Regions from separate parts of the Homo sapiens genome. Here regions 2 and 3 are each linked to region 1. Evidence: promoter capture Hi-C in human tissues and cell types (Jung and others, 2019). All regions are on one chromosome and are shown on one strand. The core of a region is centred on a gene start or on the middle of the fragment in contact, and the rest is flanking DNA. Distances in the headings are between cores, read along the strand shown.

Region 1 (4,930 bases), core at 653-3,152:
TCAACTTACAACATTTTCAGTTTACGATGGCTTTGCGATGGCCATCACCCCATCATAAGTCAAGGAGAATCTATACTGTAATAGAAGCTATGTGAATGTGGTCTTTCTCTCAGAATATCTTACTGTACTGTGAAAGCAAAACCAGGGACAAAGTAGGGACTATGGTACATTTAGGATAGAAAGTTGTACTGAATATTTCACAAGTGAAAAATATACTCATTTTTCTTTGTGTTGACTTTCCAATGTGGATTTGGTACAAAAAAATAAAAACCCTCCTTACCAATTGCTGGCTGGGTGCAGTGGCTCACGCCTGTAATCCCAGCACTTTGGGAGGCCGAGGTGGGCAGATCACTTGAGGTCCGGAGTTCAAGACCAGCCTGGCCAGCATGGCGACACCTCGTCTCTACGTCTCTACTAAAAATACCAAAATTAGCCGGGCGCGTAGCCGGGCGTGGTGGCGGGCGCTTATAATCCCAGCTAGGAGGGAGGCTGAGGCAGGAGAATGGCTTAAACCCGGGAGGCGGAGGTTGCAGTGAGCTGAGATTGCACCACTGTCCTCCAGCCTGGGCGACAGAGCAAGACTGTCTCAAAACAAACACACAAACCCCTCATCAGTTGCAATATTTAAGTTGCATTTAATCCTAGCAATTGCAGTCCTGAGATTTGGATAAGAACCAGAGTATGGTCTTCCAGGGCAGCCAAACCAAGCCATTCCATGAACAACAGAGATCACCCTGCTGCAGATGGTCCACAGATCTTTTCTTGTGCATTTCTTCTGGGAACAAATGCAACTGAGGAAGCAGACATATTCTAGGGGGAGAGATCCACAAAAATCCTTAGAGTCATCTTGCCCCACCTCCTTGTTATGGCTTTAGGTACAGCCCTTATGGCTAGGAGATGTAACCTTCCTCAGCCTTTGCGTCTACGTCTACAAAATAACAACTACCTTGCAGGGTGTTATTTAACACTGCGAAAGTGCATTAATAGGCACAGAAAAACAAAAAACAAAAAAGCAAATTGTGCCCTCACTGCGAATTCTCTGTATTCTAGTTAAAAACATCTATAGCTTGGGTGCATGGTGTCCGTGCTGGGCAAGAAAAGGGCAAAATAGATCATGACAAGCCTTAACATTTTCTCACTTCAGTTTCCTCACTGCAATTGATTTTTTTTTTTCTTTCAAGTCGGAGTCTTGTTCTGTCGTCCAGGCTGGAGTGCACTGGTGTGATCTCGTCTCACCGCAACCTCCGCCTCCCAGGTTCAAGCGATTCTCCTGCCTCAGCCTACCGAGTAGCTGGGATTACAGGCGTACGCCACCACGCCCAGCTAATTTTTGTATTTTTAGTAGAGACGGGGTTTCACCGTGTTGGCCAGGCTGGTCTCGAACTCCTGACCTCGTGATCCACCCGCCTCGGTCTCCCAAAGCGTTGGGATTACAGGCGTGAACCATCGCGCGGCCCCTCACTGCAACTGAGGGTAGCGCAGTGGCCGCAAGTTCCAGATCTGGAGTTACTAAATAGCTGGGTTCCAATCCCGGCTCTGCCACTTATTAGCTGTACGATCTTCATTCGTTTCTCAACCTCTCTGGGTCTGAGATTCCCTTAAAGCCGGGGTAATAGAAATGAATAGGATTTCCTAACTAGGACTAGACTTTCTCAATTTCTTGACTCAGAGGGGCAAGGATAGCCTGAAATGGAAAGTGAAGGCCTTCAGGTTCTTCCTAACAGCCGCTCCGAGGAGGGGAAAGCTACAGGAAGAGGGAGGAGACCCAAGAAAGGTCGGACCAATGAGGCAGCGGGCGGGACAGGAGTTCCCGCCTTTGGGCGTCGTGCGCGCGCACCTCGCTCACACGCACACTCGCACGCACGCACGCTGCGGAAGCGCGCGCGCGCGCAGGCCCAGCCCTCGTCGCCGCCGCCATTTTAGCTGTTGGTTCCGGCCGCACCGTGTGGGCTGTAGTAGCGGGAGGGGTGGGGGTCCTCCAGAGTTAAGTGGCTGTCCTCGACTGTGCCCATACAGCAGCCAGCTTTCTTCCTTAATAACTGCCCGTTCGAAGAGTGCGAGGATGTCCAAGCGGCACCGGTTGGACCTAGGGGAGGATTACCCCTCTGGCAAGAAGCGTGCGGGGACCGATGGGTAAGCCAGGCCGGGGGCGCGAGGCGGCAGCTCGGGCTTTGTTGGGGTCCTGGCAGGGAGCGGGCCGGGGCTGGCCTGGCCGAGCGGGTCCTGGAGCCCGAGCCTTTGTTTCTCTCTGGGCTGGGTTCACTAGCGGCGGGTAGGAGAAGCGCGGCGCCCGTTCGGCCCGGCAAGGGCGCGGGGGGTTGCGTGCGACGGGGCCGCTGCCCAGCCCAGTCCGGAGGGTGGAGAGGCCTGCAGTAGCCATGAGGGCGCCTCCTCCCCCAGGCCGAACCGAGCGGGAGTCATTTGCGAGGGCGTCGGGCGGGAGTGAACCGCGGACCTCGTGGCCTCGGTTCCCGAGGAAGGCCTGGAGCCGGAGGAGAGGGTGGGGGAGGGCGCGGTGGGAGTATTCGCTTCCAAGGGCAGCAGGCACTTCCCAGCCAGAGGGGCCGTGGGGAGGGCCTGGGTGGGGGCGCGGCCAGGCACTCCAGACGGGAAAGGCGGAGGGCGGAAAGTGAGAGCAGCGCGTGGATCATAATGTAGGCTGGGATGGGGGTGGCGGGAGTTGAGAGAAGCCAGCAAATAGGGAGTTCTCGGGGGAGGTGGGAGTAGAGGACCTGCCGGGAGAAAGGAAAACGTGGAGTAATATACCTGATGGGCTGGAAGGCTGGTGTTTTGGGGCGACTGAGTTTATAGTTTGGCGGGAGAGAGCGTGCCTTGGTCCATTCAAACACTTCAAAGTAGATACTAGCAAACTTCCGCTCTCTGCCTACGCTCCCGCCATCTCCTGTATTTCCTGCTTTGGTTAAAACTGGTTACTGAACATCGTCCCATGGGGAGGGATTAGAAGGCATTGTTTTTTTTTTTCATCATTTATTTTCTATGCATGTCCCACTTTTCTTCATAAGTAGCTTTTGAAATACAGGGATCATGTTCAAAACGTGTTTTTAGTATTTATGGCGAAACACCGCCCATGTGGAGGTTGAGAGTTGAAATACTTACACAAACTCTTGGTGTTCCAGATTCCTTTCCTTAAAGGTACAGAGGAATTTAGCAGTTAATTTAAGCAATTTCGTGAAAATCATTTCTTGTCCCTTGTGTGTTTTCATTGATGAAGTACAAAGACCTGTTTGGATAATTCAGGCAAAACCCACAAAAGCCCGAGTAGCCAAATACTTTGCATAATTGTATCATTTTATTGTGTACTTGTGATACAGAATCACTGTGTCAAGTCACCTGTATAGCTGTTTTGAATTTTTCAGCTAAAGTTCTTCATTGAAATTGATTTCCAGGGATATGTTTAGTGTCATTGTAGAGTATAAGCCAGGATAGGGTGTACTTTTTGAGGCTTTGCCATATGTTGAATTATTCAATAGAAAGCAAAAGCATGTCACATTTTAATTTTGTGAGTTATTTAGTTTACGATATTAGGCATTGTAAAAAAGACAATGACATTGTAAGACAGACTCTCTTTAGGCTATCACCCTCCCCCACCATTACGCCCCACAAAACGTTAATACCTCTGAGCTGTATGTCACAGACTCAGAGCTGGAAGCAACTTAAAAAAGACTATACGCGGCTCCAATCAAGGAATGAGAAGTGGAGAACAGAGTTAAGGTGGCTTGTGCAAGTTTACAGCAGGATCTGGAACCCTGCCTTTGTCATTTTCACTCAGCAGCACACAGTTCAGTACTGTAGTTAAGAGTCATTACAGCCTATTTTAATGACATTTATAATGCGTTGGTAAAGTAGGGAACACTTAGTTCTTGATTTCTCTAAGGCAAAAATAAATTGCTGTCATCTGGAACTGATGTCTCTCACAGGAGGTCAGATTGGAACAAAATATTCTGGGAGGGAATGAATGAATTCATTTGTATTTGTGCATATGTGCACCATTTAAAATGTTCCCCTTGGGATTAGTGGTCCCACCATATGTATGTGCGATTGTTTACTTTCTCTTGCAAAAACAGATATCCTTAGTAAAAAGGTTGACTTTTGGAGTCTAATGGTAGCTTTATGATTCCCTTGTATATTATTTAGAATTTGCCTATGGATAAAGGAGAGTTCATCTTTGGAATAATGCCCAAGTTATAAGAAATAGTAGAGGGAAGTTTTTATACTCATTTCTATGTCATTTGAGTGCCATTTATCCTTGAACTGGTTTTATTTAACAGTGGACTTAAGGTGTTTATCGGCCTCAGAATTTTTTCATACTCGATAATTTTAAGTCACTTGTTGACTGCCATGCAATCCTGCAGATTTTTTTTTTCCCTGATAAGCAAGTGGTTTTATTGGAGAGCATAAGCTTGTCAGTCTTACAAACTCCACTGCCAGATAGGGTTTCTGCAGTACTGAGAAGGGAAGGTAATTCAGTGGGAGATTTCACTTATATTAATGCTCCCAAACTATATAAGGCTTTATTTACTCCTGGCATATTTTAACTTTGAAATCAGGTGAAGTTATTATAGGTTTCTGTTGCATATTCTGGCCTCATTTCTTCTTTTTGTCAACCCACAGAATCTTCACTATACAATTACCGAAAGTAATAATTTTCCATACTTACTGTTGAAGTATGGAAAAAAGTTTTCGATGTTAGGGGCGTTTTTCATTTTGATGTTGGTTTTTGATATTACCACCTGATAAGAGTTTTTTCTGTTAATTATGGGAAAGTAAAGCTAATGTATTAATACTGTGATAACATTTGTGGAGCATGCACATTTTCACTACAATCCTGTATGGTAGATGAGGTTAAATGAACTTGCCACAGGGAACATAAGAAATGTTTATACTCAAAGGTTTAAAGAAGGCATTCCCT
Region 2 (4,930 bases), core at 1,780-4,279, 310 kb before region 1:
CAAAGGTTATTTGCTACCCACGGTTGACTCTCATGCAATTTCTTTGGCCCCTATGGTCTTCTCATTAAGAAAAATAATGATAAAAATAATTCTTTACATTCGTCTTTCTTCAACTGGTATTTACAAGGATTTACTGTGTCTCAGGCACTCTGCCAAAAGTTGGGGTATACAGTCCACCAGGATGTAGTCACCTTACCCCCCATTTCCTTATGGAACCCTCATAACAAGCTTGTGGATTAGACTGAGCAGGTGGTAATGACCTCATTATATAAACAAAGACATGGTAATTCAGAGTGTTCGTGAAATGCTCAGAAGTTCAGCATCCTTCTTTATGGTCACTCAGCAAGAAGCAAGCAAGAGGAGCTCGGTTTTAACTTCCTGTTGGATGTTTTTCCCTCTGGACCCCAGGTTTGTGCTGGGAACCCTGGATTCAGGCGCCCTGCATGCTCACTTCCAGACAAGAGGCGGCAGCCCTTGCATGCTGCAAGACCGCTTTCCTCATCTCTGCTTCTGCTAACCTGATCTAAACCCAAGAATGTGAGCTGAAAAGGAGACTTTTGGGGTCTGGTTCTAGATTCCTGCCCAGACTTCAGTATAGGCTGGAAATTGAGCAACAGTGGGCTAAGGAGTCCTCAAGAGTGGGGTCAGGTCATCCTGAAGGGATGGTCTCATAGCCCCTCTGTTGTGGGAGCCTGAAGACAGGTGCACCAGGTGACCCAGTCCTGTCTGAGCAGAGGCTCCAAGAAAGTGAGATAATCTAGTAACACCTCAGACTCACCACCCCACCCCATGCCCATTGTAAAGAATTTCCTCAGGCAGCCATGAGGGACATGCCCCAGACTGCCTGAGCCTGTGAATGAGGAAAGGTTTGAGAAGAAAGTGAATGACTGAAGGTGTTATCTAGAGATGAGAAATGCCTTGGGTAACAGTGGATTTTAACTTTAAACACCGAGCAATGTAAATTCACTGCACCCTCCAAATTTAGAAAATACAGATACATATAAAAGAAAAAAAGCCACCTACAATTTGACTACCCAGAGCTGACTGCTGTAATCTTCCATGTTTCCATGCCCTAATTTCTAAAAATGAATTTATAGTGTATGCTGTTTTACTATTTGTATCGAGGCTAACACGTAGACAGCAGAGGCACACATTTTAAGTGTACAGCTCAGTGCATTTTTACATGTGCACATACCTGTGTAACCACCACCCAGAGCAAGTTCTAGAGCATCCCCAGCTCCCCAGAAGGCTTCCTATGCCCTTCTGAGCCAAGATATCCCTCCTGCCTCACCCAGAGGTAACCATTATTCTGACTTCCAGTATCATATGCTGTTTTTATAACGTGTTCTTATTCCTAGTCAGCACTACTTATTCATAAGTAGTGGATAGTTGCCACGTCATTAACTCATCATCATCACCATCATGGTCGTCATCGTCGTCGTCATCATCATCATCATCGCCAGAGCGGCCACTTGGGATTCTGAGGTATTGACAAACCATGCCTGCATGGGACTTTAAGCCTATGTTTTATAAATACCTGCTGTATTTTTCCCCACTATCAGAAAGCCTAAATGGCTGGCATGAGGGGTTCTGTTTGGTTCTAGCACAGGCTGCAGGGGTGTCAGCGACTTTGAGATTTTTTTTCTTCAAGGCCTGCTTGTGCCTTCTGTGACTTGCTTAGTTTTTTTGAATATACATGTGTTATGCTAAACATCCTAATAACCATTGCTGTGTATGTTCGAAAGGGCATCTCACATCCTAACACACGTTGTGAGATGCCCTTTCGAACATACTTTTGCTCTGGTGTTTACAGGAGAACAAATACTAAGGTGCTTGTTTGTCCCATTCCTCAACTTCTTCTTAAAGAGGAGAGAAACTCACTGGACAATTTAAGCACCTGGGTTTAGAGAGAGGTTCTTTTAAGATGACATTGGCAAGGAAGGAAAATGACTATTTTGATTGCTGGAATTTGTGAAGACACCAACAAGGAGGAGAAAAGCTCCACCCGTCTCCCAGAAATACCCTCCCACTCAGTGCTGAACAGCTGAGTCTTGATTATGTAGGCATTAACAGTGCACACTTGGAAACCTGCCTCTCTTCACCCTCTCTCAGTTTAGGTTTTGATTATTTTACTACCACTATCACTACAACCACTATGCTGATTGCTACCACTACTCTTATTATTATTACTAATGGCAATAAAATTATATTAAGTTTCCATTTGCAGTGTGCCAGCCACCACATGAAGATTTTTTAATGTAATTTTCAATTCAGGAACCTATATGAAGGAAAAAGGAAACATTCATTGAGCACTTTTTAATGCTTTGAGTCCTGTGCTGGATGCTTGACATATGACTTTCAGTACAGCTAAAAGATAAGTAGACATCAGGGAATATGCAAGGAAAGCCAGAGCTGGGATTTGAACTCCAGGTTTCTCTGATTCTGAAGTCTGTGTTGTTCCTATTCTAACACAGCCTCACAAAATGAGTGAATGAAGGAATGAATGAGTGAATGAGTGGACCAACCAACCTGGTACACTGAAGCACTAATTTTTAAGAAGTCTGGATTTTAGCCTGGGCGTGGTGGCTCATACCTGTAATCTCAGCACTTTGGGAGGCCGAGGCGGGCGGATCACCTGAGGTCAGGAGTTTGAGACCAGCCTGGCCAATTGTCTCTACTAAAAATACAAAAATTAGCTGGGCATGGTGGTGGGTGCCTATAATCCCAGCTACTAAGGGAGGCTGAGGCAGGAGAATTGCTTGAACCCAGGAGGCAGAGGTTGCAGTGAGTTGAGATTGCCCCGTTCCACTCCAGCCTGATTGACAGAGTGAGACTTCATCTCAAAAAAAAAAAAAAAAAAAAAGTCTGTATTTTAGATTGTGCTAGAAGGGAAACATTCTCTTACTTAAAACCCTAACTACATAATGCCCTGATGTACTGCTTACTTACTTTTGTGTCTCAGATAGCCAATGTCATCTGTCAGTGGTGACACAGAGTTCTGATTGTGAAGTGGATTACAAGTCTTACAATATTGGGTGTCCAATTTCCTCATACCACATATTTGGGTATGTTGGTATTTTATTTAGGATTAATTTTAATGAAATACCAGAATTAATAATTGCTTAAATAATATTGAACTTTATATTTTTCTGAAGTGCAATACATTTGGAGGTAGGCATTTTAGGGCTGGCATGCTGGCTTACAATCTGTTAGAGACCTAGCCACCTTTCATTTTTCTGGTTCATCATTCCATGTGTGAGGCTTTCCACTTTGCAGACCACTATGTGGCAAGAAGGAGGAAGACATAGGCAAGAGTGAACCTGCTATGGTTTGAATGTCCCCTTCACAACTTACATGGAAACTTAATTGCCATCGTGACAGTGTTACTAAATGGCACATTCAAGAGGTCATTAGGTCAGGAAGGCTCTGCCCTCATGAAAGGATTTAATGTCATTATCATGGTAGTAGGTTTGTTAATGAGGGCGATCAGCCCCCTTTTCTCTCTGTCTGGAGTGCTTACTCACTATGGGATGCCTTCCCTCATTTGTGTCATGATGTAGCAAGAAAGTCATTGGCAGATGCTGGTGTCATGCTTCTGGACTTCCTAGCCTACAGAACTGTGAGAAATAAATTTATTTTCTTAATAAATTGCCCTGTCTCTGGTATTCTGTAATAGCAACAAAAAATGGACAAAGACAGTGCCCCTCCCTTAAAGGAAATGTTTCAGAAGTCTGAAACATTGGAAAGGAAATGTTTCAGACACTGTTGCTTCCATCTCACTGGACAGTATTTTATATAGGGGATCCTCATAGTACCTACCTCAGAGGGCCTCCTTGTGAGGATCAAATGAGCTAATGTGAAAAACTGCCCAGAACAGTGCCTGCCATCAGTGTTTTGGCTGACGCTTCTATGGTCATACCTGAAATCTGAGCCCATCAGGCTTCGTAGGTCTTTCCCAAGGACTTATTTTAACTACTATAGTCTTTGTACCCTTCCACTTAAGTGGACAGCAACCAGTGCTGATGTTATCCAGGAAGATGATGATTGTGGATGATGATGATGAATATAAGCTGTAAGTAAATGGCAGCTGCATGCCAGTTACTGGGCTAAAAGCCTTCTTTTCATTATCTCATTTAATCCTTTGACAAACCTATAGTACCATGAAGTAGGTACTATCATAGTCCTTATTTTACAGATAAAAGATCTTAGGCTCAGCAAGCAATGGATTTCCTTGCCCAAGATCCTTCAGCTAGAAGTGGTAGGGCAGGAGTTGGAATCCAGAGGGGACTCTGACTCACACCCCGGGTCTTACTTGGGAGTATCCACTGCCTTCTATCTTTTTAAGTCTCTCTGCCTCTGAATTTCATCTCCTTTTGGAATGGTCAGCCTGGACATATATTTAACAATCCATTTTGACGCTACTATTTATGATGATCCTGATGACTACTGAATTTTCTTTTGACCTTTTTTTCTTTTTTGAGACAGGGTCTCACTCTCTCCCCCAGGCTGGAATGCAGTGGCATGATCATGGCTCATTGCAGCCTCAACTTCCTGGGCTCAAGGGATCCTCCCACCTCAGCCTCCCAAGTAGCTGGGACTACAGATGTACGCCACCACACCCAGCTAATTTAAAAAAAAATTGTAGAGAAGGAGTTTCACTATGCTGCCAAAGCCTGTCTCAAACTCCTGGGCTCAAGCAATCCTCCTGCCTTGGCCTCCTAAAGTGCTGGGATTACAGGCATGAGCCACTGTGCCTGGCAAATTTTCTTTGTTGAAAGCGAGATGCCCAAACCTCGAGCTTACCTGAATTAGTGATGTCTATGTGCACTTCTCCAAAGGAGTTTTTAATTTAGTATTAGATCTTGTAGATGCACACGCAAAAGAGTAAACCGAACAACCCATTTTATCGTCATTTAAATGTTCTCCTGAT
Region 3 (4,930 bases), core at 802-3,301, 260 kb before region 1:
GTGGCAGCTCCCCTTGGTCTGCCGCAGAGGTTGGCCTGCTTCCTCTTCTGGGCGTTAAGAAAAGAGTGGATTCAGGGAAAGGGGATCAGGAGGAAAAAAGGGGTCTCGGAGAATTTAAGGATTAGTAGGTCAAACAGCAGAACTAGCAGAGGACATTGGAATCACAAAGACAGCAGTCCTTTCTTATCTGGGGGATACTTCCCAAGACCCCCAGTGGATGCCTGAAACCTGGGTTAGTGCAGCTCTCGGTTGCCATCAATCAGAGCCCATTTCTCTTCATGTCTTCTACCTACGAATGTAATGCCTTTTCCATCTTCACTGAGCACTTATGCACTGTGGCTGTAGCTTTTGTAGTTTGAGGTGCGGCAGCAAAACTAGCACAGATTTCTCTTTCCTTCTTGACAATTTCATGGATAGAAGATTGGTTCTTATTGCAGATCTTAGCAACCTCAGCATATGATTTTTTTTTTCCTTAAGTCGAGAACTTTCACCTTTTCACTTAAAAGAAGCAGTATGTGGCTTCTCTTTGGCATGTCCAAGTTGCCAGCATCACTGCTCTTGTGTTTGGGGTCATTATTTATTGTATTTATTTATTTATTTATTTATTTATTTGAGATGGAGTCTCACTCTGTCACCAGGCTGGAGCACAGTGGTGCAATCTCAGCTCACTGCAACCTCCGCCTCCCGGGTTCAAGCGATTCTCCTGCCTCAGCCTCCTGAGTAGCTGGGACTACAGGCACGCGCCACCACGCCCAGCTAATTTTTGTAGTTTTAGTAGAGACGGAGATTTACCATGTTAGCCAGGATGGTCTCGATCTCTTGACCTCATGATCCACCCACCTCGGCATCCCAAAGTGCTGGGATTACAGATGTTAGCACCGTGCCTGGCCGAGGCATTATTAAGTAAAATAAGGGTTCCTTAAACACAAGCACTGCAATACTGTGACAGTTGACCTGATACCTGAAATGGCTACTCAGTGACTAAGGGGTGGGTAGCGTAGACAGCATGGACCCTGGACAAAGGAAGGATTTGTATCTCTCCAGCAGGGCCAGGTGGGACAGACTGGGACACGAGATTTCATCATGCTACTCAGAATGGCATACGATATAAATCTTATGAATTTTTTATTTCTGGGATTTTCCATTTAATATTTCCAGACCACGGTTGACCTCAGGTAACTGATACCAAGGATTAGGGGGACTACTATACCCTGAGGTGTGCTCCTGAACCAGCTATTTGAAAGAAGCCTGACTTGTAACATTTTGCCAATGTCTGTGTGATAAATACTGGTACCATGACAAATGTCAGGTTACCAAAGTGAAGTCACTGAACTTGGAAATATTTGGACTCTAGGAAAAGATAGCTCCAGCCTGTCTCTGTGAAGTGGAGCAGTGTAGTGCAGCCCAAGAGGTCCACCTTTTAAGATTGTCAGACCCAGGTTTATGTTCTCGTTCTGCCAGTTATTGTCTGTGGCCTTTGGCAAGTCAGTTTTCTCTCCAGGCCTCAGTTTCCTCATCTGTAAAGTGGCAATAATAATGCCTCTCATCGAATTGTTTAATCATTTATTCACCACATCATTTAGTCCCCACATAATTGGGGACTTCCTACATGCTAATTAACTTTCTAGCATCTGAGGACACATCAAAGCAGCTGAGGACACATCAAAGGATAAGAAAGACAGGGTACTAGCTCCCATGGTACTGATATTCTAGTTGGGGAGTAGATAATAAGAAAATAAAATACGTAAGTAATTTCATCAGACAGTGCTTAGTCTGAGAAGAAAAGAGAACAGGACAATGAGATTTAATGATTTAGGGATGGACTTGCATGCAATATCGTTTGTAAAGGGTGTTGCATGGTGCATACCACCTAGCAAGCACTTAACAGAGGGTAAGTGTTGCTGTTGTCTTTAGCATAACATGCGCCCATATTGACTTAGAATCCACTTGTGCAAGAATTCCACCAGAAATCTTAAGATCTTCCTCTCTATTGATCAGCTATTTCCAGTGAACTAGATGTGTCCCCCCAAGTAGAGACAATGATCCTGGTGAGACACCTGGCATGTGGCAGATGGATCCCCAAAAGTCAGCCCTCCTGATCACCAGCCTCGACTTCGCCAGCATCAAGCATTATTGCTTTGGTGCCAAGCTCCTGGGAACTTTCTTGCATTTTGTGTGCTCCTTGTGGAATAAGCACCTAATAGGATATGCCAGAAGCGGCAATTCATGTTCCCACTGGGACAGATGGCAGTTGGTCTTCTTGTCTGTTTACTTTAAAGATTATGGTACTTTCATGCAGAGGACCAATAATACAGTGCGATGTATTCAAAAGCAAGGAAGTTTGCGGTAGGCAAATGCTCCTACCAATGTCACACATTTACACTTCCTGGGCCCCTGCTGGCAAATTTAAATTTAGCTGTTGTGATATTGCATAAACACAGGGTTTTGCCCTTAATAATGAGCTTTATGTTATACCAGCTGAAGGTCTTTAGGTACCTCTGTTTTATCTGTCATTGGTGCCGTGAAATGATAGAGACCTTCTGTGAACATACCTCTATTGACGTGGGACTTTTGGATGAATTTGGTGAGCAAACCAATTAAGATACAGCTACAGGCCAATAAAGACAGACCAATGAGTGTGCAAGTGACTAATTAAGGTACACTTCGTTAAAAAGGAGTGCTCAGCTGTGGATGTTTGTCATGGTCCAGGATGAGGGATCAGAGAGCTCTTTGGAAGCTGTTTCACTTTATGCTTCAAAAGGAGCAGAGAGATGTCCTAGCCTGCAAGAAACTGAAGTAAAGATGGCACTCTAATGAAAAGCTCTCGCCTTGGGGCACTATAGAAATTAATTATGAGGAATTACAATGAGTGAGAAGGGCCCTTCACCGCACCCCACCTCCCTGCCCTATCATGTCTTGCTCTACCTGGGATCTTGATTATGAACTATAGGCAATGCTCAGCGAGTCCAGCAAGCGGCCAGTCTAGTTCAGCAGTGTCTAATGTTTTATTCATAAGTGAATTGGATACACTTGGTCTTCCGATACCTCATTTGAGCCTGTCATGGCTTACATGAGCTCATAGTCTGGGTAGACCACGTGACCAAAACAGCATGGTTTTCAGATATTCATCCCATAGACTGTGGACATAATTACACTTCCTAGTGGAGAACTGATTCTGAAAGATATCTCTGCCCAAGACTTATTTTATCATACACCATATCCAAATTACACACTAAAATGAAAATAAATCAGAGCTTCTTTAAAACTGCTTGATGGGACACTAAAGATTTTGGCTCTGGGAGCAACATGTGCTGAACTATCTGACAGTGATTCAGGGGCTTCTTAGCTGTGTAATCTTGGGACAATTGCTTGACTTCTTCGTGCCTTAGTTGTTCTCATCTGTACAATGGGGATAGCAGTAGTACTTGCCTCATGGAGGCTGGTTCGGTCAATTCATTTCAACATGTATTTGTTGAGGACAGACTGGTCTAGGGCTAACAGCAAACAATATCAATGAGTCCCTGCTCCCATGGGAGTTTCGTTCTAGTGGAGGCAGATGGACAGTAAGCAAATAAATCATATTTCACAGATTCCAAGATGCACAGTTTTTCACATTTGGACATCTCTGGTACAGTCGGTATTGTGTAGTTACGACTGGCACTTTTTATTCTTTTTAGAGGTGCACAGTGGTGGCTCTTAAAGTTGATGGAGTCTTATATTTGATGAACTGCGGTATAATATGTCAGGAGGTGATACGTGCTAAGTAAAAAACTAAAGCAGGATAAGGGGCTAGAGAGTGCAGCCCAGGTGGGGCAGGGATGCTGTTTGTATCAGGTGGTCAGGGAAGGCCCTCTGCGCATGTGCGTGACACAGAGCCCTGAAGGAAGTGTGGTGGGAAGGGTCAGATATAGGGACATGGGGTGTGAAGTCCAAAGACCCTGTGAGGGGAGCGAGCTTAGGGTGTCAGGGGCTTGGTGCGGGAAGGCATGCCGTTTGCCTTTTGTGAGGATTAAATAAAGAAAGTTCTATAAAGCACTTGACATAGAGCACATTCTCCAGGGGAGCTGCTGTGCAGGTATTGTTGCCACGGTTGTGAAGAGAGGCAACGCAGCATAGACTTCAGAGCCCTGAACTGCCGGGCTCAATTCCTGACTGCCATTTATAAGATTTGTGACATAGGCAAGTTCCTCCACTTCTCTATGTCTCAGCTTCTCATGTGCAAATAAGGATAGCAACAATACCTGCCAAGGGTGCTTGGTGGACTTAAATGGGTGAATGGGGATCAGCACCTAGGATAGTGCATGGCATGGCACATTAGTGCTAAGTGTTACCTGGCCAAAAGCTTTGGGCCCAGGGCACTGTGGGCCACTGATTTTTATTTTTATTTTATTTTATTTTATTTTATTTTGAGATGGAGTCTCGCCCTGTCATCCAGGCTGGAGTGCAGTATGTGATCTCGGCTCACTGCAACCTCCGCCTCCCGGGTTCAAGCAATTCAACTGCCTCAGCCTCCTGCGTAGCTGGGACTACAGGTGTGCACCACCATGCCCAGTTAGTTTTTGTATTTTTAGTTGAGACGGAGTTTCACCATGTTGACCAGGCTGTCCTCGAACTCCTGACCTCAAGTGATCCACCTGTCTCAGCCTCCCAAAGTGCTGGGATTACAGGTGTCAGCCACCATGCCTGGCCCGGCCCATTGATTTGTACATGGTTCCCAGTGGGCCACAGTGCCCTCAACCTGAAGCTTTTGGCCAGTTAACACTGGCCTCAGAGCCATGTGCCAACCTCTCAGGGGGTTCTCGCTACTGTAAAGAGGAGATGACAATGTCTGCCTCTGAGAGTTGTGGGGAGCACAGAATGAAGGCTTCCTATTTAATAGATCTAAGAAGCATTTGAGGACGGGCTATGGTTAGCCAGACACGGTTGTGGA

Evidence for each region. Contacts are between HindIII fragments. The study calls those that stand out against the background at their distance.
Region 2: a contact is called between a fragment that was not itself captured here and the fragment with the promoter of DHX15 in region 1, in 1 of the 25 tissues and cell types used here (lymphoblastoid cells).
Region 3: a contact is called between a fragment that was not itself captured here and the fragment with the promoter of DHX15 in region 1, in 1 of the 25 tissues and cell types used here (dorsolateral prefrontal cortex).

What each region holds. Positions count from the first base shown.
Region 1 is chr4:24,581,526-24,586,455 of GRCh38, reverse strand. It overlaps DHX15 (DEAH-box helicase 15), which reads left to right and starts at 1,902. Exons shown (of 14, transcript NM_001358.3): 1 at 1,902-2,133. The coding sequence starts at 2,063. RefSeq lists an enhancer at 1,464-2,003 and silencers at 2,184-2,303, 2,314-2,393, 2,594-2,643. The HindIII fragment of the contact is 10,024 bases long and covers 1-4,930 here.
Region 2 is chr4:24,891,547-24,896,476 of GRCh38, reverse strand. The region is part of intron 1 of CCDC149 (coiled-coil domain containing 149); the gene reads left to right. Among named protein-coding and RNA genes, the nearest start is that of CCDC149, 19 kb to the left of the region's middle. The HindIII fragment of the contact is 5,835 bases long and covers 112-4,930 here.
Region 3 is chr4:24,844,250-24,849,179 of GRCh38, reverse strand. The region is part of intron 4 of CCDC149 (coiled-coil domain containing 149); the gene reads left to right. Among named protein-coding and RNA genes, the nearest start is that of SOD3, 51 kb to the right of the region's middle. The HindIII fragment of the contact is 4,984 bases long and covers 1-4,543 here.